Linked DNA regions of Homo sapiens: all the other regions are linked to region 3. Evidence: promoter capture Hi-C in 16 types of primary human blood cells and fetal thymus (Javierre and others, 2016). All regions are on one chromosome and are shown on one strand. The core of a region is centred on a gene start or on the middle of the fragment in contact, and the rest is flanking DNA. Distances in the headings are between cores, read along the strand shown. Region 1 has its middle 53 kb from the start of DUSP1. Region 2 overlaps CREBRF (CREB3 regulatory factor). Region 3 holds the start of RPL26L1 (ribosomal protein L26 like 1). Region 4 holds the start of BNIP1 (BCL2 interacting protein 1). Region 5 overlaps BNIP1 (BCL2 interacting protein 1). Region 6 has its middle 44 kb from the start of BNIP1.

Region 1 (4,011 bases), core at 808-3,307, 240 kb before region 3:
CTGCGACTCCCATTTTACAGAGGGATAACCTGAGGCTCAGTGAGGTGAAGGCAGTTCAAGATCCTTGACAGAGGCTCTGGATCACTGCGCTAGAAAGTGGTGGGGTGGGGAAAGACCGCTGGGCTTTCTGACTTCAGCAACACGTTCTCCAGTAACCAGACTTCCGAACAGTGGCAGACAGGGCCCTCTGCCTGGCAAGCACACACCACAGGACCTGTCCCACAGAGGGCCTCCCAGCCCGCTCTGCCAACCTCACCCACAGGCCCCCAAACTTGAGAGGGTTGACATAGGCCATGGAGACCTGTGCGAATGTCTGCCTTCCCTACTCCAGTCGACCCCCTGCATCACCCAGAGCACCAGGCCAGGGCCTGGAGTCACGCTCTCCTCTGCCCAGCACTGCCAGGAAGGCAGAAGGTGAGACACAGGAGAGAATGCATGGCGAGAGTGGGCATTTATTTGGCACGTCCTAGGTGGGCTGGGCTGCTCGATGAGATTTTAGGTATATTATCACCATCAGGAAGATTCTAGAGGTAATGAAACTGACATCCAAGAGGGGAGGTGACCTCTCCAGGGTCTCCACCCTGTGCGCCTCAGTTCCCCCAACTGTGACATTGGATGAAGGAGCTCATGCTCAGGGAGGCTGGGAGGGGTCCTGAGGAGGGCTCAGAGCAAGGCCTTGGGACAGCATAGTCCCTGCAAGGGAGTGACCGCTAGGGGCCTTCCTGGGAGCCTGCTGTGCCCTCAGCCCCAGCCCTGCCCACCCTCCCTTTCCCTCTCTGCCTTTCTCCAGAGCACGGCTCAGCCCTTTGGGGCTCTGCACTTTGGGGCCAGAGAGACCTGAGTTAGAATCCAGACCTGCCACTCACTGGTTATGCGACCTGGGCTGAGCGGTTCTTTTTCTCTGAGTCTCAGTTTCCTCATCTGTCTGCGTAAATAAATGAGGGTAATAACCAGCCGCATTTCAAGGGGTCTGGAGGTTAGGACATCATATCTTTCAAGTACCTGGTACGCTGTCTGACGCAGAGTAACCATTTAATAAAGCGGAGCTGTTGTTGCTGTCGCTGTCATTGTTGGCGTTTATTTATGAATGTCGAGGCGGCAGGTGGGCCTTGGTGGGACTGTACGGACATTTCCCGGATGCCCGGAAGGTGGCGCTAGAGACCCCCTTGTCGGCTCCCAAGAGAGCGCTAAGCATGGTCTTCACATCATCGGGAAGAAGCCAAACTTAGACGCCCGGATGGTTTCCAGCTCTGTTAATTCCCTGGGCAGATGCTTCCTGAACACCCCAACAATGTTCTCAGGTCCACCACTGGGGCTGCGGACCTGGGGCTCCTCCCCACCAGCCACCCCGCCCTCCCCAACAGGCCTCCACTGCCTTTCTCTCCCTCCCTTTGTCTCTCCTGCCTCCTCCCTCCCTTCGTTTCTTCCTTCCTTCCTTCTTACAAATAGGCACTGTGCACCTACTGTGTGCTGGGCTCTGTACGATGAACTGGAGATGCCCAGGGAAGAAGACCTTTGAAAGGCTGTGCCCTCTGGAACCTCCAAACTACGTGAGGACACAGAAATAAACAAGAGAAAGAAGAAAAAAAAAGATGCTTTCAGATCCTGGCAAGCATCGGGAGAAAATACAACAGGGTGGTGGGATAGAGGGACGGAGGAGCTGGGGTGAGGAGAAGGCGGGAGGTGGTCAGAGGGAAGGGCCGGTGTGGAGGGGGCCGCCGGAGCAAGGACCCTCGGACACGCAGCCCAGCATATCAGGGAGAAGAGACAAGAGGAAGCAGTCGGGTGGGGGCAGATGTGGCCAGAATCAGAAGCGGGTCTGCGAGGTACAGACTAAAGGGCCGGTCAACTGCTGCAGCAACCACAGCCACCACTAATGCTTACTGAGCACTTACTAGGTGCCAGGCACTGGCATTGTCCCATTTTATAGGTGGGGAAACTGCAGAAGGGACCGCAGCCAACAGTGTTTTCAGGGGCCCTGGGAGTTCCCAGGGCCACTGGTGGAAGAAGGAAGAGAGAATGCTCAGTGAGAGTGGGCATGCATTTGGCACGTCCTCGGTGGGCTGGGCTGCTTTATGCTATTTTAGGTACATTGTCACCATCAGGAGGATTCTAGAGGTCATGCAACTGGCATCCAAGAGGGGAGGTGACCTGCCCAAGGTCACAGTCGGGGATTGGCAACCCTGAGACCTGAACCCAGGTCTTCCCCATTTGGGCAGGTGGCCCCCTGTGCCCAGAAGCCTCAGAGCCCTCTGGAACGCCATTTTCCTTGGGCCCCACAAATAATCTGGCTTCAGTTTGCCCCTGAGCCCACCTGTCAGCAAATCCACTCCACATCCCTCGGGGATCCTGCTCTATTCCACCTCCAGCACTCCCACGAATCCCCATCTCTCCCTGGATGGCTGGATCCTGTTTCCTCCTTTCATGACACTCTGACCATCTAAAGTTATCAGACCTACTTGTGTACATTCATCTCCCCCACCAGACTATACCCTGACCCCAGTGGGTCTCCCCAGCCTCCTGCCTCAACCCCCCTAACCTTTCACCCTACCCTTCACCACACAGATGTGCTTACACCATTCTGAACAAGCACACCACTCATGAGAGCAGGCACAGACCCATCTTCATCCCCCTCTCCTCACAGCTGAGCACAGTGTGTGCATGGAGAAGGGGCTCAGTGAAGATAGGTGGATGGATGGATGGATGGAAAGACAGATAGATGAATGGATGGGTGGATGGATAGAAGTCGAATGGATGGATGATGATGGTGGACAAATGGATGAATGACGAATGGGTGGAAGGAAGATTAGTGGATGGATGGATGGATGGATGGATGGGATGGATGGATGGATGGACAGGATGGATGTATGAATAGATGGATGGATGCATGGATGTATGGATGGATGGATGGATGGGTAGATGGATGGATGGATGGATGGATGGATTGGATGGATGGATGAACAGATGGATGGATGCATGGATGTATGTATGTATGGATGGATGGATGGATGTATGGATGGATTGGATGGATGGATAGGATGGATGAATGGATGAATAGATGGATGGATGCATGGATGGATGAATGGATGGATGGACACGAGGGATGGATGGATGGACAGGATGGATGGATGGATGGATTGGATGGATGGATGGATAGGATGGATGGATTGGATAGGATGGATGGATGGATAGATGAATAGATGCATGGATGCATGGGTGGGTGGATGGACAGGATGGATGCATGGATGGATGGTTGGACAGGGTGGATGGATGGATGGATGGATGGATGGATGGATGGATGGATGGATGTTTGAAAGACTACTTGACCTAAGCCTGTGTTTGCTTTTTGACCCACAGGAAGGAGGTCAGAATAAAAGATGGCAGCAGTGACCCAGGTAAATAAGTCCTCCAGTGTGGGGCTATGGTGGGGAAAAGGGGTTAGGTGCCAGTGCTGGGGATGGGCCATCAGCAAATTCTGGCAACATCTAATGTGCACAGAGCAATGATGAGTAAACCCCAAGACGTGACCTGGAGCATCTCTTGTAAAGAACAGGGAGAGGGTGTAGTCCCTGAAGCTGGGACCAGGGCAGCAAAGCACGTCAAGGCTCTGACTCAGCCAGGAGCCATGGGAGTTTGAGAAACTGGGCGCAAACACCCACCTCATGCATGAACACGGCTCTGTATAGGCATGAAGGACTCTCACTTGTGGTGCCATGACTGAGCTTCCAACCATGGTCCTTGAAGCCAGTGGGACTCTACTCATGGTGCAGATGGAGAAACAGATGCTTCCAGAGGGGAAGTGACTTGTCCAAGACCACCCAGTCAGAAAATGGCTCACAGTTGGCTTGGGTGGGAGTTGGTGGGGTCAAATGGTTCTGGAGGGGCCAGAGGCTTGGGGTACGGGACTGTCAGGCCGGACTCAAGGGTCCTCAGGTGTAGACTCAGACCTGCCGCTCCAAGCTATGTCTCGAGTGCCCTGAGTGCCCTTCCCCAAATGCAATCTGACTGTGT
Region 2 (3,777 bases), core at 483-2,982, 160 kb after region 3:
ACAGTCACCATCCTAGTGCAACTGCCTGCAACTCCTGGGCTAAAGCCATTCCCCTGCCTCAGCCTCCCAAGTAGCTGGGACTGCAGGTGCACACCACCACACCTGGCTACAGTGTGTTATCAAAAGTGCATACCCAGTAATCTTGAGGGTTTTGTTGTTGTTGTTGTTGTTTGCTGCTGTTGTTGTTGTTGTTTTTTGAGAGGGAGTCTTGCTCTGTTAGCCCAGGCTGGAGTGCAGTGGCAAGATCTTGGTTCACTGCAACCTCCACCTCCTGGGTTCAGGTAATTCTCCTGCCTCAGCCTCTGGAATAGCTGTGACTATAGGCACATGCCACCACACCTGGCTAATTTTCGTGGTTTTATTAGACACAGGGTTTCACCGTTTGGCCAGGCTGGTCTCGAACTCCTGACCTCATGCAGTCCACCTGCCTTGGTCTCCCAAAGTGTTGGGATTATAGGCGTGAGCCACTGCACCTGGCTAATCTTGAGATATTTTTAAAAAACAAGTGCCACATCATTTGAAATCAGTTTCTTTGTATAGGAGCTGCTTATAATCATTACTGCTTAATGCTTTCTTACACATTCTCCATTTCTTTTTTTTTTTGAGCATAGAATTTTTTTTATTTGTTGGTGTCATCTATTATTTCTTTTATTATTATTATTATTATTATTATTATTATTATTATTATTATTATACTTTAAGTTTTAGGGTACATGTGCACAATGTGCCAGTTAGTTACATATGTATACATGTGCCATGCTGGTGTGCTGCACCCATTAACTCGTCATTTAGCATTAGGTATATCTCCTAATGCTATCCCTCCCCCCTCCCCCCACCCCACAACAGTCCCCAGAGTGTGATGTTCCCCTTCCTGTGTCCATGTGTTCTCATTGTTCAATTCCCATCTATGAGTGAGAACATGCGGTGTTTGGTTTTTTGTCCTTGCGATAGTTTACTGAGAATGATGATTTCCAATTTCATCCATGTCCCTACAAAGGACATGAACTCATCATTTTTTATGGCTGCATAGTATTCCATGGTGTATATGTGCCACATTTTCTTAATCCAGTCCATTTCTTAATTATCTGTTATTACATAATTAAAAGGAAAGTCTTTCATGGTAGTGACATATTCCAAGTGTTTTGTTCTGTCTTACAGATAATTTATTGTTTGTAATCAACTCCATCAAGCAAGAGATTGTAAACCGGGTACAGAATCCAAGAGATGAGAGAGGACCCAACATGGGGCAGAAGCTTGAAATCCTCATTAAAGATACTCTCGGTAAGAAGAATGCGAGATAAATTCATAACAATTAATAATATGTGTAAGATGTATGATTTAAGGGGATATTAAAAGTTCTTTTAGTTTAAGGAAAAACTCAAGTGCTCTCATTGTAATTACTCTCCTTTATGAGTAGTTTTATCTTTTGAGATTTAGTGTTCATAAACATGTGTTGCAGGTGACCACAACTTGTAATTTAGACTTAATCATGAAACTATTTTAACATTTAAGAAAAACAAACTTCTAGCAACTTTAACCTTTCATGGAGGACAAAAGGTCCCAGAGCTGTCAAGCCTGCAGTTTGCACTTTAGTGTAGAGATTCTTACTTGTTTTACTCAGTAATGCATTTCACAGGATTCCCACAAACTTGGCTCTCTGGTTTCCCATCCCTGAACAGATTGCACAATGTGGGGAGGATCAGAGGGCAGGGATCTAGACGTCAGGCCAACTGAGAGCTGACAGGGAAGAGAGAGCTAGCTAGTATAGACATAGACATGAGAATCAGCTCAGCTGCTGTAGGAGAAAGTCACTGACAGACAGTAGCATCCAAGGCATCCAGCGTTATATGACCCACGAAAACCCCCAAAATTAAATATACACAATAAAAGGTCAAATGTTTTTCTTGAACAAAAGTATATTTATATTGAAAACAATCAGGTGAAGAGTAGACCCTAATCGCCAGTATTTTCCTCAGCAATCACTTACCTCCTGCTTCCATATGGATTAATTCTGTGCTTGACTTTTTCTTCAAATGGGTTGATGCTATTTTAATTTTTTATGTATTCTTTCATAGCATTTCTTTCTTTTCTTTCCTTTTATTTTTAAAAGCATTTTTATTCTTCCTTTATTAGCTACAGGGGGAAATTTAACATTACAAGAAAAAGTTATTTTTACCTTTTTATTTTTTAATATAAACATCTATATGTTTGGTAAGCTTATGTACTCCTTTACACTTGAAAGTCAGTTTTACCAGGTATAAAATCCTCAACTCGTATTTTCTTTCCTTGAGTATCTTGAATATGAGTCTCCATTTTCTTTTGGCATAAAGTGTTGCTATAGAAAAGCTAATACTGGCTGGGCTTGGTGGCTCATGCCTGTAATCCCAACACTTTGGGAGGCCAAGGCGGGCAGATCACTTGAGGTCAGGAGTTCGAGACCAGCCTGGCCAACATGGTAAAACCCTGTCTCTACTAAACATACAAAAATTAGCTGGGCGTGGTGGCAGGTGCCTGTAATCCCAGGTACTTGGGAGGCTGAGGCAGGAGAATCGCTTGAATGCAGGAGGGGTGGAGGTTACAGTGAGCCAAGATTAGACCACTGCACTCTAGCCTGGGTGACAGAGCAAAACTCTGTCTCAAAAAAAAAAAAAAAAAAAGAAAAAAGAAAAGCCAATATTGACTAATTATTTTTTCCTTATAAGTACTTTGCTGTTTTTGCTTAGGTGCCAAAAGGATTTTTTCTTTAAATACCAGTGATTTTGCTAAGTTATATCTTAGAGTTGGTCATTTTTAGTTGACATTTTTATGTTTATACTGTGTTCTTTCAATATGTACTTTCAAATGTTTTTAGTGTTTGATCTGTTCCCTTGCTTTGCTTTTCTTCTGTAGGGACTCTTATTATCTATAGATTGGCTCTTTTTGGCCCATCTTTAGTATTCGTCTGTCTTTCTTTTCTCTTTTCTTCTTCTTTCTTCCTTCTTCTTCTTTCTTCTTCTTCTTTTTTTTTTTTTTTTTGAGACAGTGTTTTGCTCTGTCACCCAGGCAGTAGTGCAGTGGCACAATCTTAGCTCACTGCAGCCTCCACCTCCCAGGTTCAGGTGATTCTCCTGCCTCAGCCTCCTGAGTAGCTGGGATTACAGGCACCCACCACCACACCTGGCTAATTTTTGTATTTTTTAGTAGAGGTGGGGTTTCACCATGTTGGCCAGGCTGGTCTCGAACTCCTGACTTCAAATGATCTTCCTGCCTTGTGTCACTTTTTCTTGAATCATTTTTATCTCTTCATTTTTAACATTATTTCTCCTTTTTACCTTCTGTTTCTCTTAAAGCATTATTTGCTGTCATTACTTGCTGATCTTAGGTTCCTTTTACTTTCAGGAATTTTCCCCTGTATTTCTAATTATTTTCTGAATTCTGTCACCTTATTTCTTAGTTATTCTATTTCTGATTTATGTTCTTTCATGTATCGTGCCATTTTCTTTAATGTCTTTTATTCTCTTTTTTCTTAGAAAAAGTTGTGGGATTCTGACCTTGATACTTCTCTGTTGTTCATATATGTGTGAAATTAGTTCCTCTGAACTTTTAAAAGAAGGTTTGGTTCAGAATAGCTTTTCTTTTTTCACAGAGTCTCCGCTTTTCAGTTAACATTTAAAAACATGGCATCCGGGCACGGTGGCTCACGCCTGTAATCCCAGCACTTTGGGAGGCCGAGGCAGGCAGATCACGAGGTCAGGAGATCGAGATCATCCTGGCTAACATGGTGAAACCCCGTCTCTA
Region 3 (4,115 bases), core at 267-2,766:
AGCCCAGGTGTGGCCATCCTCCAGAGGCCTCCAACATTAACTGTGAAGGGCCCGGAATAAAACCTAGTATTAGTAGGCCAGGCGCAGTGGCTCACGCCTGTAATCCCAGTACTTTGGGAGGCCGAGGCGGGAGAATCACCTGAGGTCGGGAGTTCAAGACCAGCCTGACCAACATGGAGAAACCCCGTCTCTACTAAAAATACAAAATTAGCCGGGCGTGGTGGCGCATACCTGTAATCCCAGATACTGGGGAGGCTGAGGCAGGAGAATCGCTTGAACTTGGGAGGCGGAGGTTGCGGTGAGCCGAGATGGTGCCACTGCACTGCAGCCCAGGGAACAAGAGCGAAACTCTATCTCAAAAAAAAAAAAAAAAAAAATCTAGTATTAGTAAACGCAGGTGTTTAACAATGTCACCACTACATGTCAGGGAACACTGATAAACTAAGAGAGAGCACGGGACCTGCCTGGGTGTGGCTGCTGTACTTGCAAGACATCTTCCCTCTCTGAGTTTCAGCATGCCGGCATTTGGCACTAAGTTGTCGTTCAACATATATGGAATGAATGAACGAAAGGGAGAGTTGGAGTTAATAACACCTTGCATAGAATAAACCCCGTCGGTTCTTAACCCGAAGAGAGTCGAGACCCAGAGCCCTTTTCCTTCCCTGCCGCCACGGTGCCCACGGAGGGGGCGTGGTTGATCTCCCTCACAGCTCCGTCGGGACCAGAGACCCGGGGACCTTTTACACCCAGGGTCCGCGCAAAGTGTCGGCCTAGCCAGTGGTTGGGTGGCGCCCGGGCCTCCAGGCAGTCTTCCAGGGGTCGGCGAACGAAACGCGGAGCTCGGGAGCGACCCGGCGGGGCCAGGCACGGGCAGAAGGGCCAAGAGGGCCACAGGTGGGCGCGGAGCGGCCGGAGTGGGCGGGGACTGGATGAGAGGGGCGGGGTCTAGGAGAGAGGGGCGGGGCGGCGGCCACAAACCCGCAGGCACGCCGCCGGCCGCCGTTTAGTCCCAGAGATAGAAAAAAGTAGAGGTAGGAGGGCGCGGCGGCTCACGCCTGTAATCCCAGCACTTTGGAAGGCCGAGGCGGGCGGATCACGAGGTCAGGAAATCGAGACCATCCTGGCTAACAGGGTGAAACCCCGTCTCTACTAAAAATACAAAAAATTAGCCGGGCGTGGTGGGGGGCGCCTGTAGTCCCAGCTACTCGGGAGGCTGAGGCAGGAGAATGGCGTGAACCCGGGAGGCGGAGCTTGCAGTGAGCCGAGCTCGCGCCACTGCACTCCAGTCTGGGCGACAGAGCGAGACTCCGTCTCAAAAAAAAAAAAAAGAACACCAGTAAGCCTCTACCGCAGGCCCTACACAAGCAGGCCCTTGTACTCACTGGCATCGCCCTCCCGGGGCCGCCAGGAATGAGGCACTGAGATCCCACCCCAAGCCGCTGGGGGCGCCATTCGACTTCGCTCCTACGGAAATGGGGCTTCGATGTCTTTCTGCGCTTGCGCGGCACGGAAACTCACTTCCGGCCCTGCGCACTCAGGGTCTGAGGCAGCTAGTAGCCGGGTGAGTGGAGGCTGGAGTTTTCTCGGACAGTGAACTCTACCGCCCCGTGAGACCCTGCCCTATGTGTCGCGGGAACACATGTCACCCCACAGCTCTCTTTGAGTGACCTCCCGACCACCCATTCCTGCCTAACCCTAGCATTCCTTCCTCAGCCTCAAGGTCCCAGTGCTACCCTCTCCCCCACGACCCCTTTAGACGGGCATGCGACCTCCACACACGCCTCACTTTATGTGATAGTCAGACTAGTCGCATCTCTCTGTCCTCCCTCAGTTGCCTTTTCAGAGGCTACCTCCCCTGTAGAGCCTTTGTTGGGGGATGAGGAGTGTCTTGGGTCGAGAACAGGCCCCTGTAACCCACTGAGCGCCCCTTCATTCCGTCTCTCTCCGCCCTTTGTAGAGGGTCACCATGAAGTTCAATCCCTTCGTTACCTCGGACCGCAGTAAAAACCGCAAACGTCACTTCAATGCCCCCTCACACGTGCGCAGGAAGATCATGTCATCCCCGCTCTCCAAGGAGCTGCGGCAGAAGTACAATGTCCGCTCCATGCCCATCCGCAAGGACGACGAGGTCCAGGTACGTCTCCCTCCGGCGCTAGTGGCGCTCGGACACCGTTGCCTAAGAACGTCATGCGTGGAGCAGTCACAGACTCACATGCCTCAGGACTCTGGAAAGTAGTGTGACCCTTCAGATGTGTTAGGCCAGAGATAGGGTTCAGAGCCACCAGAGAGTGCCTGCGTTGCTTTAGAGCATTTAATTATTTAATAGTAATAGTAAAATTTAATAAAACAGTATGTCAACCAAGCAAAAACCTGCTTTTTTGTTTGTTTTGTAGAGATAGGGTCTTGCTATGTTGCCCAGGCTGGTCTCTGAACTCCTGGCCTCAAGTGATCCTCCCACCTCAGCCTCCCAAAGCACTGGGATTACAAGTGTGAGCCACCGTGCCCCACCAAAAATACTTTTGATTTAACCTTCTGGCTGCTAGTTTGCCAAGTGTTGTTGCCCAGGGTGGCTTGTTGAACCAGACTGTAGGGGAAGGTGCTGCAGTGAGAGTAGTGTTTTAGTGTATTTGGGTGTAGTGGGATTGATGGACAGAGATTTGTGGGAGCTGGCCATGTGATAGCATTGGATTTGGCAGGAGAACTGGTAAAGATGCAGCGAGTCACTCTTTCATAATTTCTAAAAGACTGGCCCATGTGAGAACGTACAAGCCCTCTGTTCTCTGTGATTGGAGCTTAGAATGCATGAGAGGAGGGAAGGGAGTTGGATATGAGTGAAATAAGCAGGGGCTAGATTCATTCCTCAAAGGAATATTTATGGAGCACTTACCAGAGATTGTTCTAGGACAAGATTGACGAGGCCCTTGTTCTCATGGAGATCACGTTTTAGAGCAGGGTTTCCTAGCCTCAGCTCTATTGATATGTTGGACTGGATAATTGTTGTGGGGGGTGGGGGGTGGGGGCTGTCCTGTGCATTGTAGAATGTTTAGCAGCGTCCCTGGCCTCTCCCCACTAGATGCCAGTGGCACTCCCTCCCTTCACAGTTGTGACAAGCAAAAATATTTCCAGATATTGCCAAATGCTCCCTGGGGGGCAAAATCAACTCTTCCCTCACTCAGTTAAGAGCTATTGTCTTAGAGAATGAAATGACATAAGGTGATGAGGCTTGGTGTATCATCTGAGACACTGGGACTCTTTGAAGGTTTGGGGATATGTTAAGGAGGAAAAAATGTGGAGTTAAGCCGGAAGTGTGACAGGAAGAGTGGAAAGAGTAGTTCAGAGGTATGATCAGCAGTTTCAACCCCCTCTCTCCTGGATCCTTCCCATCAGACATGTTCTAGAATGGGGGAATTGCAAATACTTATAGGGGATAGGTAGGGATAGAAAATGGCAAACTGGAAAGCTCAAGCCTCACATATAAGATATAATCATCTACCTTTAGCCCATTGATGCCTGGGGGAAATGCAGGCCCATTGTTAGATTCTTGGATTTTCAAAGAGAGCTGGAAAATTTGGATTCACTTCCCTAGCCCACATTTCCTTCCAGCTACTACACTTTGTTCTCTATTCATAACCAACCTCCTCAAGAGAGCTGTCTACACTTCCTCATCTCCCATTCACTCTTGGATTCTCTTCAGTCTATTCCCTGTCCCCACTACATTATAGAACCTACTTTGACGTAGATCACTAATAATCCCTTCGTGACTGAATCCAGTGGACACATCTAGCATCTCTTTCTGCTCTGTGTTCTCTACGTAGGTAAAGAATAGGTAATAATCCGTTCTTAGAGCTTTAAATGTCTGCTGTGTGCTAACAACTCCCTCTTTTATATCCCAGTCCAGACCACTTTAGACAACCTGTATATCTGACTACCTATAACACAGACCTATAGATCTGACTACCTACTGAACATCTCTATTTAGGTAGCCCATTGACATTTCAAGCTTCTTAAGAGTACTCTTGATCCTAACACTCTCACTGCCTCCAGAATCCAACTCTACTCCCATCTTCCACATCTCCAGTAAGTGCCATTTATATCTCCCCAGCTGCATATGCCCC
Region 4 (3,980 bases), core at 1,168-3,667, 190 kb after region 3:
CATAAACTAAAGAAGGCATTTCTACCTAATCAGATTGGCAAAACTTCCAATGTTTGTTAACCTATCCTGTTGACAAGGCCACGGGAAACAGGCATTTATGCCATGTTGCTGGAGGGAGTATGGATTGACATAATCCCTATGAAGAGCAATTTGGTAATATGTCAGAATTTTTAAATGCATATATCCTTTGACCTAGCAACTCCATTTGCTCTGGGCAAGTCATTATTCCTCTCTGCCCCGTTTTTACCTCACAGAGTTGTTGTAAGAGTTAAGCGAGACACACATGAAGCGCTTAGTACAAAGTTCCTGGCACATAGGAAGTGCTCCCAAAATGTGGGCTAGTAGTAGAATAACAGCAGCTAACGGGCATTGAGATCTTACTATATGCCACATTAGCACACTGTGCTTGGTGCTTTTCATGTATTTTCTCATTTAATTCTCCAACCTGTGAAGTAGGCGCAATTGATTATCACCAGTTAGCTTCCGAGGAGACAGAGGCACAGGCATGCGAAGTGTGTGGTGGACAGGATTTGAGCCCAGGCAGATGCCAAGCCTGTGATACACTGCCTCTCTATTAGGTGCAGTGGGGTGATGAATACCTTACGAGAGGGTGTGTAGAGGGCTGTAGGGACACAGACAAGCACATAGCCCCGCTTACAACAGGTGGGGACCATATTGATTTTTTGGGGAAAAGATGGCTTTCAGTAGAGGCTGTGCCACTTTCTTTCTTTCTTTTTTCTTTTTTTTTTTTTTTTTTTGAGATGGAGTCTTGCTCTGTCGCCCAGGCTGGAGTAGTACAGTGGGGCGATCTCGGCTCACTGCAAGCTCCACCTCCTGGGTTCACATCATTCTCCTGCCTCAGCCTCCCAAGTAGCGGGGACTACAGGCGTCCGCCACCACGCCCGGCTAATTTTTATATTTTTAGTAGAGACGGGGTTTCACCGTGTTAGCCAGGATGATCTCGATCTCTTGACCTCGTGATCCACCCGCCTCGGCCTCCCAAAGTGCTGGGATTACAGGCATGAGCCACCGTGCCCGGCCTAGGCTTTGCCACTTTCAAGATAGGTAATCTTGCAACAGGGTTGATTGTTTTTTGTTTTAATTTACTCTAAGCCCTACTCCTGATCTGTGATAATAGTGTAGTACAATTTCAAGGGTGGTTGTGAGGATTAAGAGAGATGAACATGGTCGGGCACAGTGGCTCACGCCTGTAATCCCAGCACTTTGGGAGGCCGAGGCGGGTGGATCACGAGGTCAGTTCGAGACCAACCTGACCAATATGGTGAACCCCGTGTCTATGAAAAATACAAAAATTAGCTGGGCATGGTGGCACGCACCTGTAATCCCAGCTACTCAGGAGGCTGAGGCAGGAGAATTGCTTGAACCTGGGAGGTAGAGTTTGCAGTGAGCCAAGATTGTGCCATTGCACTCCAGCCTGGGCAACAGAGCGAGACTCCGCCACAAAAAAAAAAAAAAAAAAAGAGAGAGAGATGAACATTCAAGTCCTAAGCCTTTAGGTCCTCACAATCTATGCTTGCTGAAGTGACCCGAACAAATGCAGATGGAGTGGGGTCGAGTGGGGGAAACGCTTTCTAGGGAGAGGGAACACCACATTCTAAGGCTACACATCCAGAAGGAGCTTGAGCAATCCAGGAAGGGCGCAGGGTGCGGTGGCTGATGGCCGGGGTGGCTGATGGCCTTGAGGACCAGCTAAGAAACTTGGATTATTTACTAACAAAAATAAAAGAGCCACCATTTGTTGAGGGTTTGCTCTGACATTTCCATCAAAACTACCTTAGCAAGGTAGATTTAATAAATCCAGTTGTATACAAAAGGGAAACACGAGAAGCCATAGAAGGGCTGCATACAGGTAGGTGACTTGATCAATTTCGTGTTTTACAAAGATCCCTTAGATCATGTGTTGGAGTGATAGGAGGTACTCTACCGACCTGCCTTGAACTCCATACTTTAAAAAATATATGACGTTTATCATTTCCTCTTTTACTCCACAATTTATACTCACTGTAGAAAATATTAAAAATATAAGAAAGTTTGAAGAAACAAAAAATTATTACTGGTACTTTCCAGAGACATCTCAATTGATACTTTTCTTCCAGTCTTTTTTTTTCTATGTAAAAAATATATAGTTATTAGAATGCCTGACAGAAGGAAGATGGAAAGAGACCACTGTGAAGCGTTCTTGATATTCCCTCTTCCCTTCCTCTCCATGTTATTAGGGCCATACCAAGAGGAGAGGCTGATTTCCCTACACGTGTCAGGGAAAGTCCCAACTCTGCGCAGTGACCCTCGCTTGCCATTTTCGCCGGTCTCTAGGGGGCGCTGCCCCGAGACTGGGTGGGGAGGGAAAGAAGGTGGTGCGAAAACGCGTTTGAACTTGGGTCCTGCCGCTGCCCGTAGCCGGCGTCCCCAACATGGCGGCTCCCCAAGACGTCCACGTCCGGATCTGTAACCAAGAGATTGTCAAATTTGACCTGGAGGTGAAGGCGCTTATTCAGGTACTGATCCCGGGACCCCTGCCGGGCTCCAGCAGCCCTAACCCAAGCTCTGCTGGTCTGTGAGCTTGGCAGTGTCACTCCCGAACTTTCCCCACTTGGTTTCCCAGACCACAGGCTCCGCCCCATGGTCGGCTACCCCCCCGGTCCCCATTTGGTTGTGTCCCGGTGACTGCTGGCCTTGATCCTTTTTCCGGGTGCCGCCGGATCTCCCATCCCCAGAGCACCCCACTGTTCTCCGCCCCTGACTCAGCTACTGCTTCGGGGCTCGGCTTTGCCCCTTCCACCTGCAGCCCTGGTCGTCGCCCCGCCCCTGACTACCTCACAACCTACCTGTCACCCTGCTTGGCCCCGCCCTCTGACGCTGCTTCAGCATCCTCTGGTAGCGTCCGGGAGGCAGCTAGCCCCGCCCCCTGCTGGCCAGCTCTCCTGGCATCCAAGGCCACCTGGCACGGGAGGCACCGGGTGAAACGAATGTAACCTGGACCGTAGTTGTGATTTTATGCTTGAGGAAATCGAGTACGGCGCCAAGGCCTAGGTTAGAAGGCATACCTGGGTCAGTGGCAAAACTGGGACCTGGACTGTGAAAGTCAACCTAGGAATAACACCTTAGAGTGTTACCCCGTTTGAACAGATAGGAAATGAAGTGTTTCGCCTTAAGCCATTTAAGGGTAGAGGTAAAATAAACGAGTGGACTTAGGCAAGAATTGGGAGTGTAGACACGGTTCCATGAGTTCAGCAAAAAGAAACCGAGTTTTAAACCTTGTTTTTGCTTGTTTGTTTTTGTTTTTTTGAGACGGAGTCTCGCTCTGTCGCCCAGGCTGGAGTGCAGTGGCGCGATCTCGACTCGCGGCAAGCTCCGCCTCCCGGGTTCCCGCCATTCTCCTGCCTCAGCCTCCTGAGTAGCTGGGACTACAGGCACCCGCCACCACGCCCGGCTAATTTTTGTGTTTTGCTTAGTAGAGACGGGGTTTCACCGTGTTAGCCAGGATGGTCTCGATCTCCTGACCTCGTGATCCGCCCGCCTCGGCCTCCCAAATTGCTGGGATTACAGGCGTGAGCCACCGCGCCCGGCCTAAACCTTGGTTTTTAAAAATAATCATTTTCAACAAAGTCACTAAACATTAGATGTAGACTCAGAGTTTGTAACAAGGTGTGGCAAAAAGTGCAGGAAAATAGGGCTCCCCAGATAAACCAGATGCAGAATAAACCAAATTAGATGCAGAATAAACAAATACGGTGCAAAGAAGTGTGATTAAATGAATAAGCCAGAGAAAAAGTGAAATTTGATGCAGATATTTAAAACTTCTTGAACTTCACTTCTCTGATGTATACATTACAAAACTTCTGGGCCAATTATAGAAAAATAAACAGGTTTCATACAAATGAAATTACATTTTCACATAATCTAAATTGCTTAGGCATTCTTCTGTACTCTTTCTAACATTTGGGTTCTTGTCATTGCTG
Region 5 (3,661 bases), core at 555-3,054, 200 kb after region 3:
TAGCCCAGGCTGGAGTGCAGTGGTGCCCTCTTGGCTCACCGCAACCTCCGCCTCCTGGGTTCAAGTGATTCTCCTGCCTCAGCCTCCAAAGTATCTGGGATTACAGTTGCGTGCCACTGCACCCAGCTAATTTTTTGTATTTTTAGTAGAGACGGGGTTTAACCACGTTGGCCAGGCTGGTCTTGAACTCCTGACTTCTGGTGATCCACCCACCCCAGCCTCCCAAAGTGCTAGGATTATAGGCGTGAGCCACCATGCCCGGCCGAAAATATCAAATCTTATTACTCATGAACATTTTGGTATATTCTCTCCCTCATTTTTATTTCTACATTTCTTACAAAGTCAAAATTGTACCATACATAAAATTTCATATTCTGCTGTTTCAGCACAAAAGTTGTTCATTAAAAAAAAAAAAAAAGCTTTTTAAGCCTAATTCTAACAGTACATAGTATGTAGATTGTATGTTAATACAATTCCCTGTGTGTGTTTGCATTTCTAGTGTTTAAGTAGTGTAAGTAATACACCAGGGCATGTCTTAGAACATAAGGCTTTATCCACATTTTGGATGTTTCCTTTGGAGGGATTTCCAGGGATGAGATGATTGAGTCAAAGGAATGAACATTACCAAGGCTCTTCAATTGGCAAATTGCTTTACAGAAGGCAGCACTGGTTTATGTTCCTACTAGCAGTCCACAGGGGCGTGGGTCTCAGCACACCCTTTCCAGCATTGAATGTGATCATTTAAAATATGTATACTAATTGGATAGGTAAAACATGAGATCTCATTTGGATGTGGGGCCTTCTTGCAGGGAGGCTTTTGTTGACATTCCTCCCCTTTCTCTTCCTCTGAACTTTTAGGAAAACCACCAAAGAGAGCCTGGCCCAGACATCCAGTACCATCACTGAGAGCCTCATGGGGATCAGCAGGATGATGGCCCAGCAGGTCCAGCAGAGCGAGGAGGCCATGCAGTCTCTAGGTAAAGCTGGGCCTGGAGTAGGAAGCTTCTCCCAGAGACGCTGCTCTAGGGCCCTTGCCCTGGCACCTCCACTCTGGGCTCCTCCACCACAGCCCACACGATGTTCACTGACTTGGGTGGCTTCTCCCTCATGAGATGACTTGACACCATGGTCTTATCCAGTGTGGGATGTGCTGCTCCTATTTCTCTTTTTTTTTTTTGAGATGGAGTTTCGCTCTTGTTGCCCAGGTTGGAGTGCAATGGTGCGATCTCAGCTCACCGCAACCTCTGCCTCCTGGTTTCAAGCGATTCTCCTGCCTTAGCCTCCCAAGTAGCTGGGATTACCGGCCTGCACCACCACACCCGGCTAATTTTGTATTTTTAGTAGAGACGGGGTTTCTCCATGTTGGTCAGGCTGGTCTTGAACTCCCAACCTCAGGTGATCCGCCTGCCTCAGCCTCCCAAAGTGCTGGGATTATAGGCGTGAGATGCCACGCCCGGCCCGTATTTCTGTTTACTAGAAGACCCCACACCCCCATCGATGTTTCCTCAGGGGGAGCATTCCCATGTGTTCATGTGAAAGGCAGAGGTCCCAGCCCCTCTCCTAGAGAGGGTGTCGGCAGGGCTGGGTGAGGGGCCTGGAGTCTGATTTTCAGTGAGGGCTCTGGGGACCCATATGGCCAGGCAAGTTTGGGAATGGTTGCTCCAAGAGATGTTTGGCGAATCAGCTGCTGGTAGGACTGCTAGGACCTCAGTTTACAATTATACTCCCCAACGTTATTTTTCCTATGAGTTCCTTTTAAAAGATGTGAATCAGAGGCTACAGGAGAGACTGCTTGAGACCATCTGGTTTCCTCCAATAGTTTTCCCAGAGTGTCTCCTCTGTGATGGAGAAGAGTATCAGCCCTCTCCAGGGTCCTTCAGTATAAGACAACAGAAAAAGGGCGTTTACTCCTTGAAACGCTTTTGGAAAATTGCACACGTGGACAAAAGGAGAAAGCATGGTATCCTGAATCCCCTGAGCCCTGAGTCCATTACCCCAGCCAGTCTCGTTTCAGTTCTACCCTCAGCCCATCCCCCATCTGGATTATTTTGAAGCAAATCCCAGACATCATCCATAAATATCTCAGTACATCTCTCTAAAAGATAAGGGACTCTTTGGGGAAAAAGCAGAAGCAACCCCATAACTACAATACCATGATCACCCCTAGAAATTATAATTTTGGACCACTGTTTTTTCAGTGCACCAAATAGGCAGAAGCAAAAGGAAAGCAAGCAGGTGACCCCAAGGTCACTCCTTGAGTTTGCAGCTTACCTGAACATCTGGGCTCGGAACCAGCCAGGGGCTTCCTCTCAGCGTGTGCTGTGGGAGAGGCCTTGGAGAGAGAGGGAGCAAGGCGACAACTTGGCCTCTGAGCCCAGGGCTTTTATGCTCTGGTGTGGCGACAGCATACCCCCCGCTAACAGTGGGAAGGAAACACAAATGCTGGTGGCTTCTGGGGTGTTGAGAGGGTCCCGGTGTTCTTGGGGCCCATTTTGTACAAGCGATAACTATTGAAGAAAAGAGAAGAATACAGTTCTTAACCCTTTCCTTATGCCTCACAAATTCAGCTTGATTTAAAAGCCTACTAGGACCATAATTTTAAAACAAAAAGCTTATTAGGAATATGGTGTCTGGAATTTGCTCCACAATTGCAGGAGTAGTTGCAGTTGGGGGGAGGGGGAGCAGGATTTCAGAGGTTGGTGGTTCTTGGTTATGGGTGGTGGACACATGGCATTTCATGATATTATGCTGTCTGCTCTGTGATGGTTCAAAATTCTCCGTAATAATAAAGTTTAAAAAGAAAGGCCTATTAGATTTTTACTTAGCAAGATCTCAGGGTTTTGAAATCGCAGCAGGCAGGCGTGGAGAAAGCAGGCGGAGAGGGATTCCTGTTCTGTGAGTGTTTGTTTTTCTCCTTTTATCTGTCATTTTCAAAACGCTGCTGTGTTTCCTCTGATAATTTATCCTATTTACTTATTAGCTTTTAATTTTTAAAAAGGTAACACATACAGCATAGAGAAGGATAAGAAAACTCTAGCCCAGGACTGCCATAGAAACGCAACAGCAGCCACGTATGTAACTTTAAATTTTCCAGTAGGCACATGTTAAAAAGTAAAAAGAAACATAAGAAATTAATTTTAGTAAGATGTTTATTTAACCCATTATGTAAAATATTATAATTTCAATGTAAAACTAATATTAAAAACTATTGAGATATTTTACATTCCTTTTTCTTAGATTAAGTCTTTGAAACATCGTGTGGATTTTGGCCAGGCGCGGTGGCTCATGCCGGTAATCCCAGCACTTTGGGAGGCCAAGGCGGGCAGATCACTTGAGGTCAGGAGTTCGAGACCAGCCTGACCAACATGTTGAAACCCTGTCTCTACTAAAAATACAAAAAGAAAATTAGCTGGGCGTGGTGGTGCATGCCTGTAGTCCCAGCTACTGGGGAGGCTGAGGCAGGAGAATCATTTGAACCTGGGAGGTGGAGGTTGTGATGAGCCAAGATCACGCCACTGCACTCCAGCCTGGGTGACAGAGTGAGACTGCATCTCAAAAAAAAAAAGAAAAGAAACATTGTGTGGGTTTGACACTTACATCTCCTGACATCTCCATTTGCATTAGCCACGTTTTTCTATGCACAGCAGCCTCGCATGTCTAG
Region 6 (3,882 bases), core at 309-2,808, 230 kb after region 3:
ATCAACATGGATCAATCTCACGATGTCAATCAAAAAAAGCAGCCGCAGAACGATTCTCATAGTTGACTACTATTTGTGTAAAGTTACATTTTTTGGTTGTGGTAAAATACATATAACATACAATTGACTATCTTAACCATTTGTAAGTGTATTTATTTCAGTGGTATTAAATACACTCATGATGTTACGCAACCATCAGCACCATCCAGCTCCAGAACTCTTTTTTTCTTTTGAGACAGAGTTTCGCTCTTGTTGCCCAGGCTGGCGTGTGGTGGCACGATCTTGGCTCACTGCAACCTCTGCCTCGCAGGTTCTAAGCGATTCTCCTGCCTCAGCCTCCCAAGTAGCTGGGACTACAGGTGCCTACCACCATGCCCAGTTAGTTTTATTTTTTATTTTTATATTTGTAGTAGAGACAGGGTTTTGCCATGTTGGCCAGGCTGGTCTCAAACTCCTGACCTCAGGTGATCTGCCTGCCTCGGCCTCCCAAAGTGCTGTGATTACAGGCGTGAGCCACTGCACCCGGCCTCAGAACTGTTTATCTTGTGAAAGTGAAGCTCTGTCCCCATTATACAACTCCCCACTCTCCCCTTCCCCCAGGCCCTGACAACCAGCATTTCACTTCCTGTCTCTATGATTTTGACTACTCGGCTCCGATAAGTGGAATCATACTGTATTTATCTTTTTGTGACTGGCTTATTTCACCTAGCCTGATGTCCTCAAGCTTCACTCATGTTATAGCATAGGTCAGAATTTCCTTCCTTTTTAACACTGAATAATATTCCTTGCATAAAGTTTTAAACATGAAAAACAATTACATATTTTAATGGATATATACGCATGTGGTAAAATAGAAAGAAACGAATGAAAAGAATAGACACCAAAGTCAGGATGGTGTCTGCCTCTGCAGGGGCGAGGGGAGATGGTACTGGGAGGGGCGTGCAGGGGCTTCGGTGGAGTCAGCAGTAGCTTGCTTCCTAGCCAGGGGATTTTATTCTGTATGCCAGCGCTTCCTTACACTCATGCCGTGCCCAGCATACACGTGTGCTGAGCTCAACACTCAGGTGTGCCTGAGATATCCACACCTTGAGTCCTCTGGGCAGCCTAGCAGAGCCTGGGGCAACTGGAGCCCCTGGGCTGTGAGCCCACTTTGGGGAGGCCCAGTTGAGTGACAGGACCTGAGAAGCACCCTGTGGTGCCCCAGCGGCCTCAGGAGCACCGTGAGCCTTGGTGGTATGCCCTGATCTAGGCGGGGTCCTGAGTGCCATCAAGAAAGAGCTGCTTGCTGCCTGGATGTGGAGGACAGTAGCCAGCCGCCAGGCATTATGCTGTCTGGTTTGGGCAAGAGCCACAGGGGCTGGTGAGCTTGCATTGCAGGTGCCCAGGAGTAGCGGGTACAGACTGAAGGGAGGCCCCCTAGGGGTTGGAGGGAAGGATGAGGGCAGGTGCCTGGGCAGGCCCAGCTCCGGGCTGCCTGCTCTGTCTTCACACAGATGCTTCTGTTTGGGTGACTGTAGGGGTACAGGGGTAACTGTGCCACCTGCAGGCAACCATTGCAGTCAATCATGTGTGCTCTACAAGTTAGAGTGTCAGCATTATTGTGACATACTCAGTATGAAAAAATCGGACTGGCTCACGCCTATAATTCCAGCACTTTGGGAGACCAAGGCAGGCAGATGACTTGAGGTCAGGAGTTCAAGACCAGCCTGGTCAACATAATGAAATCCTGTCTCTACTAAAAATACAAAAAAAAAAAAAAAAATTACCCGGGAGTGATGGTGCATGCCTATAACTCCAGCTACTCGGGAGGCTGAGGCACAAGAATCTCTTGAATCTGGGAGGCAGGGGTTGCAGTGAGCCGAGATTGCACCACCGCACTCCAGCCTGGGCGACAGAGTGAGACTCTGTCTCAAAAAGGAAAAAAAAGAAAGTTGGACTGGATTAGAAATCCTAAGAAGTTCCTATATCATAATTGCCAAGGAAAGAAAGGGTGATCCTTTATGTGTAGTTTTGACCATTGTAAAAATTTTAAGGTAGAAAAACACAATTTTTAAACCTTTTTAAAAGTCACTTACTTGTAAAAGCAAAATTTCTTGGCAATGATGATTACTAAGAATCTGAAACTCTTGCATTCAAGGGATGATATGTCATTTAACAGAAAGAAGAGGAAACTGGTCACAGTGGCTGATGCCTGTAATTCCAGCACTTTGGGAGGCCAAAGCGGGAGGATTGTTTGGGGCCAGAGGTCAAAGCTGCAGGGAGCCATGGTTGCACCATTGCACTCCAGCCTGGGCAACAGAATGAGACCATGTCTCTTAAAAATCAATCAATCAATCAATCAATCAATCAATCAATCAATGATGAAGAATCATTTAAAAAAAACCTAGAATTTGAAGCTTGTCTCATTAAATCAGGACTCACGGGTGCCCACTGAGCCTGAAGCCTGACATAAAAATTATTTTTATGGAAGTAAGTCTTCCTTAAGATTTTGGAAAATATTTTATTCAAATTTTATGTTAAATATATTTTCCCCTCTTTGTATTTTACCTTTGAATCAGAATTATATAATCTAAAAATGTGGTAATTTTTTTTCTTTTTTTTAGAGACAGAGTCTTGCTCTGTTGCTCACGCTGGAATGCAGTGGCATGATCACGGTCCCTGCAGCCTTCACTTTCCTGGGCTCAAGCGATCCTCCAACCTTGGCCTCCTGAGTAGCTGGGACTACAGACATGTGTCACCATGTCCAGCTAATTTTTGAATTTGTAGTAGAGATGGGGTTTTGCCATGTTGGCCAGGCTGTTCTCGAACTCCTGACCTCAGGTGATCCACCTGCCTCGGCTTCCCAAAGTGCTGGGATTACAGACGTGAGCCACCATACCTGGCCTGATTTCCATTTAGAAAATTGACTAACTACATGGTTCCTTAAAACACAAAATTTAAAGCGTTTGCAGAGAGTAACTTCTTTTATTTTTATTTTATAGAGACAGAATCTCTCTGCCATCCCAGGCTGGAGTGCAGTGGTGCACTTATAGCTCAATGCAGCCTTTACCTCCTGGGCTCGACCGATCCTCCTACCTCAGCCTCCTGAGTAGCTGGGACCACAGGCATACACTTCCATGACTGGCTAATTTTTTCATTTTTATTTTTTGTAGAGATAGGATCTAACTATGTTACCCAGGCTGGTCTCAAACTCCTGGCCTCAAGCGATCTTCCCACCTCAGCTTCCCAAGGTGCTAGGATTACAGGCATGAACCACTGCTCCCAGATGCAGATAGTCATTTCTTAGCAGAGGTGTGCTGGATAACAGAGACACTTAAAGTGAAACATTCACTTCGGTATTCATCTTGGCAAAATGAAAATGTATGTCCATACAAACATCTGTACACAAATGTTCACAGCAGCTTTAATAGCCAAAAAAAAAGGGACACAACTCAAATATCCAGCAGGTGAATGGTTAAACACACTCTGGGATGTCTGTACACTGGAATACTACTGAGCAATGCGGAGGGTCCACCTACTGCTCTGGGCAACTGCTGAGAGGGACTATGACGGAATGATGCTGAGTGAGAAAAGCCAATCTCAAGTGGTTACATACCATCAGAGACCATCTCTATAACATTCTTGTTTGAGAAACAGCTTTATTGATGTATATACTCACATATGATTTACCCATTTATCATGTACAATGCTGTGGCTTTTAGTATTTTCACAGAGTTGGATAACGATCACCACAGTCAATTTTAGAACATTTTCATCGCCTCCAGATGAAACCCTTTAATCCCTCAATTCCCCCCTCAACCACCCCATCCCTCGGCAATCACAATCTACTTTGCGTCTCTGTAGCTTTGCTTATTCTGGACATTTCATATAAGTGGAATTATA

The links. Contacts are between HindIII fragments. The CHiCAGO score rates a contact against its expected background, and 5 or more counts as called.
Region 1: a fragment that was not itself captured here is called in contact with the fragment with the promoter of RPL26L1 in region 3 in 17 of 17 cell types (neutrophils, megakaryocytes, fetal thymus and 14 more); the score reaches 35.0 in neutrophils.
Region 2: a contact is called between a fragment that was not itself captured here and the fragment with the promoter of RPL26L1 in region 3, in 3 of 17 cell types (total CD8 T cells, non-activated CD4 T cells and naive CD4 T cells). The highest score is 7.0, in total CD8 T cells.
Region 4: the fragment with the promoter of BNIP1 here is called in contact with the fragment with the promoter of RPL26L1 in region 3 in 8 of 17 cell types (naive CD4 T cells, non-activated CD4 T cells, total CD8 T cells and 5 more); the score reaches 11.0 in naive CD4 T cells.
Region 5: a contact is called between a fragment that was not itself captured here and the fragment with the promoter of RPL26L1 in region 3, in 1 of 17 cell types (non-activated CD4 T cells). The highest score is 5.3, in non-activated CD4 T cells.
Region 6: a fragment that was not itself captured here is called in contact with the fragment with the promoter of RPL26L1 in region 3 in 1 of 17 cell types (naive CD4 T cells); the score reaches 5.1 in naive CD4 T cells.

Annotation. Positions count from the first base shown.
Region 1 is chr5:172,715,825-172,719,835 of GRCh38, forward strand. No RefSeq gene overlaps it. Among named protein-coding and RNA genes, the nearest start is that of DUSP1, 53 kb to the right of the region's middle. The HindIII fragment of the contact is 5,498 bases long and covers 1-4,011 here.
Region 2 is chr5:173,121,922-173,125,698 of GRCh38, forward strand. CREBRF (CREB3 regulatory factor) reads left to right here. Exons shown (of 9, transcript NM_153607.3): 8 at 1,159-1,281. Among named protein-coding and RNA genes, the nearest start is that of BNIP1, 21 kb to the right of the region's middle. The HindIII fragment of the contact is 963 bases long and covers 1,252-2,214 here.
Region 3 is chr5:172,957,908-172,962,022 of GRCh38, forward strand. RPL26L1 (ribosomal protein L26 like 1) reads left to right here and starts at 1,517. Exons shown (of 4, transcript NM_016093.4): 1 at 1,517-1,561; 2 at 1,958-2,134. The coding sequence starts at 1,967. RPL26L1-AS1 (RPL26L1 antisense RNA 1) reads right to left here and starts at 1,461. Exons shown (of 4, transcript NR_026682.1): 1 at 1,383-1,461; 2 at 232-350. The HindIII fragment of the contact is 11,810 bases long and covers 1-3,998 here.
Region 4 is chr5:173,142,114-173,146,093 of GRCh38, forward strand. It overlaps BNIP1 (BCL2 interacting protein 1), which reads left to right and starts at 2,418. Exons shown (of 6, transcript NM_001205.3): 1 at 2,418-2,516. The coding sequence starts at 2,433. RefSeq lists enhancers at 2,611-3,139, 3,081-3,150. The HindIII fragment of the contact is 7,780 bases long and covers 1-3,980 here.
Region 5 is chr5:173,159,075-173,162,735 of GRCh38, forward strand. BNIP1 (BCL2 interacting protein 1) reads left to right here. Exons shown (of 6, transcript NM_001205.3): 5 at 859-977. Among named protein-coding and RNA genes, the nearest start is that of BNIP1, 16 kb to the left of the region's middle. The HindIII fragment of the contact is 1,609 bases long and covers 1,001-2,609 here.
Region 6 is chr5:173,186,134-173,190,015 of GRCh38, forward strand. No RefSeq gene overlaps it. Among named protein-coding and RNA genes, the nearest start is that of BNIP1, 44 kb to the left of the region's middle. RefSeq lists a silencer at 1,510-1,629. The HindIII fragment of the contact is 1,672 bases long and covers 723-2,394 here.